Linked DNA regions of Homo sapiens: region 1 is linked to region 2. Evidence: promoter capture Hi-C in 16 types of primary human blood cells and fetal thymus (Javierre and others, 2016). All regions are on one chromosome and are shown on one strand. The core of a region is centred on a gene start or on the middle of the fragment in contact, and the rest is flanking DNA. Distances in the headings are between cores, read along the strand shown.

What was found. The method cuts DNA at HindIII sites, captures the fragments that hold promoters and counts their contacts. A CHiCAGO score of 5 or more calls a contact.
Region 1: a contact is called between a fragment that was not itself captured here and the fragment with the promoter of TFAP2C in region 2, in 1 of 17 cell types (fetal thymus). The highest score is 5.0, in fetal thymus.

Annotation. Positions count from the first base shown.
Region 1 is chr20:57,020,901-57,023,774 of GRCh38, forward strand. No RefSeq gene overlaps it. Among named protein-coding and RNA genes, the nearest start is that of BMP7-AS1, 190 kb to the right of the region's middle. The HindIII fragment of the contact is 1,672 bases long and covers 512-2,183 here.
Region 2 is chr20:56,627,959-56,630,735 of GRCh38, forward strand. It overlaps TFAP2C (transcription factor AP-2 gamma), which reads left to right and starts at 1,348. Exons shown (of 7, transcript NM_003222.4): 1 at 1,348-1,634. The coding sequence starts at 1,587. RefSeq lists silencers at 1,259-1,318, 1,375-1,669. The HindIII fragment of the contact is 6,956 bases long and covers 1-2,777 here.

The sequences.
Region 1 (2,874 bases), core at 98-2,597, 390 kb after region 2:
AGAAGAGGAAGAGGAAAACAACACATTTAAGAAGCTATTTTTTAAAACAGGCATTTGAGACCTGAAATGGCTCCCCAAGTACCATGGTTTAGGGAGAAAACTATAAATGCGTCAGAAGTATACGGATTAGATTTTCCTCCTGCAAAGCCTCAAAAACAATCGGAAAGGCAACAAACAAAATGCAGCTGGTCTGTCCTCAGCACTCAGCAGCTGAGAAATGCAGTCATTTTCAGAGCCAGTGGCATCCCTATCCCAGATGCTGCCATCATTCATTCATTCATTCATTGATTCAACTAATATTCACAGAGCCCTACTGTGTGCCAACCGCTGGGCCAGGCATCGGGAATATAGAAAGCAAACCAAGCCTCGGCCCCTGTGGGGAGTCCTGTCAGGCTGGGGAGACAGGTGCCGTCCAGGTAAACCCGCGTGCTCCCCTGTGAGCAGTGCTGTGGGGAATCCAGCAGAGGAATTGAGAGATGCTGCGGGGGGCCTGTACTTGGGGGTTTGGCAAAGCTTCTCTGAGAAGGTGACATTTGACATTTATGACTTATGTCCCTTCCGTGCATACTAAAATACAGAGTAGGGTCGGGAGAGATGGCACTGGAAATGAAGGAACCAGCTGGAAAGTCAGCCCAGGGCAGAACATGACTTTCTGGGCGCTTTTTATTAGTGTTTCCTCCCTGCCCTGTCAGAGTGTCGCGTATACTTTTTCAACACCCCCTAAACAAAAACTCCCTTCTGAGATTTTAACATTGGGGCTATCAGATCCCAAGTCAGCTTAGCTGTTTCTTCCTTGCTTGGGTTAGGTGGGTGAGATGGAGGGACAAGGGGCGTGGGCAGAGCAGACCTACTAGGTAGATGGAGGGTGGTCCTGGCTCGTGGGATGCTTTTGTCACCATTGCCCTGGTCCAGGCCTCCCAGCCTGGCCTGAGCTCTCCAGTCCCTCTGCCCCAAGCATCTCCCGACTCTCATGAGAGCCCCGTGGGGCTGGCGCTTTACAGTTTGCACATGTCTCATTGGATCCACACACAAACCATGTAAAGCAGGGGCAATGGCCTCACTTTACCAAGGGGCAAGTGACAACTCAGCCAGGTGAAGTGACTTGCCCAAAGTCACCAAGCCTGCAAGTGGCACAGCCAGGACTCCGACTCGAGACTTCTGCCTCCATGTCTCATGCCCTCCTCACAGTTGCATCCTTCTCTGAAGCGGAGCCCACCGCAGGGTGAGATGTCTGAGGTCTGTGTGCCGGGATGTGCTCAGCCTTTTCCGAATCTCAGCCTGGGTGAGCCGAATTCTTCCAGGGGGCAACCTGCCCGGGAAGTTGGGTCCAGAGCCCTTTACAGCCACGAGGCCAAGGCTGAAGGGACATAGAGGGCAGGTGAGAGGAGGTGACATTTGAAAGAGTCCTGGAAAAGGACATCCAGAGACAGAGACACACACAAGAGTATGGGAAAGTCTCCAGGGGCTGGAGAACCTGCTGCAACTCTCCCTTCTCTCCAGCTTCAGGGCATGTAAATGTCATTCTCGTCCACCTGTTGGTGGAGCCATCCGTCCTTTGAGATGCAGAGTGTGTCTCCCAGGTCTTGCTGGGGTTACGGGGAAGGGCGTGCCTCTCTCTCTCCTGGTCCCCTCTAGCTGGGCTCCCTCTGGTGTCCAACTAAAGCGCCTCTTATTGTCCATATTTGCTGGCCCTCAACTGGCGGCATCTGGCTGTGGAACCCAGACCCTTCCCTTGATTTCCAATTCAGGCTCCCACAAGGCCTCTGTGTTTGCTGCTGTTTACAGTTGATGGCTGAAAATTTAGGCAAAAACAGAGGGTCGCTCTGCTGCAACATGGGTGACTTCAAAAGAAAGAGTGTTCTGCCAAAAATTTATTTGCCATTTCTACCAGTTGGAGCCCCAGCTTCGTCCCCTGTCTCCCTCTCCTGGCTCTTCCCCGCCAGCTTTGTTTCTAAAACAGTTAAATCTAGCTAAGCCTAATCAATTCAAGTGTCTTGTCTTTCTGACACTTTCTTTGGGTACTGGCCTCTTCATCCTTGAATATTTATTGGGGTATTTTCCTAATTCCCAATTATCTACCCTAGAAAAATTCTGACACACCTGCTGGGTTGAGAGAATTTTTCATTCTTCCACATCAGGGGTTGGGGAACTGTTCTGTAATGGGTCATGCAGCAGGCATTTTAAGCTTGTGGTCCATAGAGTCTCACTCCAGCCGGTCAACACGTGCTGCCTTTGTAGGATGAATGCAACTATAAACAATATGGAAATGAATGGATGAGTCTATGTTCCAATAAAACTTTATTTATAAAAACAGGCTGCTGGCCCAGGGGCTAGAGTTTGCAGATCCTTGTTGTACATAATCAGCTACTTAGCTGAGGGGCATGGAAACCACTGAATCACCAGACAGGCCTCTCCTGGACTCCCATGGGGTGCCTCCTACTAGGTGCTGTGGGAGGGTAGAGAACATTTCTTAGAAGTCTGTTCACAATGACCCTGGCTTTGAAGCTGGGATAAGGTAAAGCCAGTGCCCACTTGTGTAGTGGGCTGAACAGTTTCCCTGCAAAATGCATGTCCATCTGCAACCTCAGAATATGGCCTGATTTGGAAATAGGATCGCTGCAGATGTAGATAAGGTAAAGATCAACATGAGATTATACTGGATTTGGGTGGTCTCTAAATCCAATGAGGGTGATCTTCTATAAGACCAAAAAGGACACACAGTGAGACAGAGAAAAGAAGGCCATGTGAAGGCTGAGGCACAGATGGGTATGAGGCGGCCACAAGCCAAGGAATGCCAGGAGCTACTGGGAGCTGGAGGAGGCCAGGAACAGATTCTCCCCTGGAGCCTTCAGAGGGACCGCAGCCCTGCCGACA
Region 2 (2,777 bases), core at 98-2,597:
ACCCGAGAAGGAACAGCGAGGCAGTGGATGCCGCCATTCCGTGGATGGGAGAGTCATGTCTACTGCAGGTGCGGACACCGTACTGATAGGCATTGATTATTGCAAAATCGTATTCAGTATCAAATAGAAATAGTCTTGTCCTCTAATCCCCACAGAATGTTTAAATCCAGCCCAGGGAGCCAGTTGGGGCGTCCCAACAAATACGCCCTCGAGAATTAGCGATGTTCCCCTTACAATGAAAGTCAATTGCTGCATAATAACTGGGCCAAAGAATTTCGTTAGTTTAAATTTTAAAAATTAGTATTGCACTTTGCTTTCAAGTTTGGGTGGCAAGTACCGAAGGGGAGAGGGAAGCAGCGTTTGTGTGGAAGGAAGTTTCGTTTTCTGTCTAAACATGTGGGACCTGGGTGTCTACCTCTCCAGTCGAGAGCTCTCTGCAGGCTCTCTCCCAACTTCCTGCACCTCCTCACCCTCACCTTACCCGTGGCGCTCGGGTTTTATTCCTGCCCGGCGCTTCTTTCCCAGGGCGAGTAGAGGCTTCTGAGTGACCGGCCCGCCAGAGGCAGCTGCAGAGCCGGCGTTCCGCAGGGCAGGGCAGGGCCGGGCCGCTGGGCTGGTCCAGTGCGCGCGGGTTCCCCCTGGCCTCAGCCAGCCGCGGGAGATGCCACTTCGGGCGACAGCGGCGAGACGCCGCTGTCCGCAACTCCTGGGCGGGTAGGACCGTCTGCTGCCTCTGCGGCCCTTGGGGCAGACTCCCCAGGAGTCCCTTCCTCTCTCCTCCCGCCCGGGGGCCGGGACCGCGCTGTGCCCACGGAGGGAACTGGGCGTCTCTGGCGCACTGGGGCTCCAGCTGCATGATCCCAGCTCAGACCTTAAGCCTCAGTGGGGTGTAGGTGGGATGGGATGTGTTTTTAGGAGATGAGGAGACCCCGGTTGTTGAGTCGCTCCCCAAATGCGCAGTTTCTTAACTCCAGGTGACATCCGTCTTTTGGAGGAACGAGTGAAGGCCGTTTAGGCGAAAGAGGGGTGGGTTTCAGTATTTGGATCCCTTCCCCCAGCTCTGCCAATCTCAGGTGTGTTTACGGTGGAGGTGACAGAAGGAAGGCGCGTCGGGGGACCCAGGCCTCGCAGGTCTTCGGCTGTCAACGAGGCACCGCCCACTGACTCCGCGCTTCGTCCCTCACAGCGTGGGGCTCGGCGCTGCGCCAGGCCCGGGTGCGGGGCGGAGCTAGGCTGGGACTGGCTGGGGGCCGCCCCGCCCGGCGCCTGGGCCTCCGCGCCGGCCCCCGGGGAGGAGTTATGATAATTTCCTTCTCATTAAGGCGCTCGGGTCCCCCGGCTATCGCCAGGACACACTGTTCGGGCGCGGCTTTCCCCGTCCGCGGAGCGGTCTTGACACTCGCGGCGGCAGCATCTACGCTCGCAGAGCCGCCGATGCGTGTCCAGTGACCCGGACAGCAAGGCCCGCGCGCGGCGGGGGCGGCGGCAGACGCCTGGTCACCGTGACCCCGATTTTGGATTTACCGCTTGGGGGCTGGGGGGATCCTGGATTTAACTGGCGACTGTTTTGGGGGACGCCGGACGCCATGTTGTGGAAAATAACCGATAATGTCAAGTACGAAGAGGACTGCGAGGTGAGCTGGGGCTCCGGGGTGCAGCCCCGCCCCGCCGAGGACAGTCCGGGAGGCAGGGGCCACTGGACCGAGGTCGGGGACGAGGGCATAGGAGCCCTGGCCTCTCGGTGGGACGGGATCCACTTCTCCGGACACCCCTTAGTCCATTTCTGCGGGGCCCCTTTCCTGTATAGGGCCTTTTCCTAAATAGCCTCCCCTCGGGAACGAGGCCTGGAAAGAGAATGGCAAATCCCACCCACACAGCTTACCGGGCGCTTTCCTAAGCGGCAAACAGCCCTGCTTCCCGTTTTCTCGGAAAAGTGCCCCGTCTGCAACCCTCAGACGTGGCTTTTACGCACGAAGTCTCTGTCCAAAGGGGTCAGATGAGGCTACCTGCTAGCGACACCTTGGCGGACACTCCTCCAAGGCCGGCTTGTCACCTGCCCCGCTACCTCCTCGGGGAAGCACGAAAACAACCGAAGTTTGGCTTTCAAAAGAAGTGGGGGCTGGGGAGTGGTGGTGGGGGTGCCCGAGGCCAGATGGGGCCGTAAGAGCTCGCGAGTGCTCCAGCCTGTCGGACAGGTTGAGCTAGAGTTTCGGAGAGTGGGAGGGAAGAAGGAGGCGGCGAGCGGGAAGAGGAAGAAGACGCAGGCAGCGCTAGGCGAGCTCAGGGGCGCCGGGAGCGCGGAGCTCGGGCTACGGACTCGCGGGAGTTCACTGCGCCTCCGGGCCCTGGAGGGCTGCCCCTGCCCGCAGGCCCGGGCGCTTCCGCCAGGAGGCGACAGCGCCATGTTCCTCCAGGTTCCCGGCGCCCCGAGACCCCTGGGCAGATGGGGACGCATCCTTTAGAAACTGAGTCGGGCCGCCCAGGGGCGAGGGAACGTGCGCGGGCAAGGCTGCCCAATTTCCAGGGTTCTTCATGCCCCCTCTGCGCCCCGACGTGCGAGAACACTGCCCTTGGCAGTGCAGGGCGCCCCCACTTATTACTCCCCTCGGCTGGGCCCGGCCAGCAGGGAGGGCCGCCCTGTGCGCGCGCTCCCTCTTCACTTCCCAGGGCGGCGCAGGGTGGCGGGCCCTGCTTTCCGAGCGCCGCCCGCTCGGAGGTCTTTGTCCCGAGGGCGTGGAAGGGAGGGTCCCGGGGGCGGGGGAGGTGCGCATTTCCCG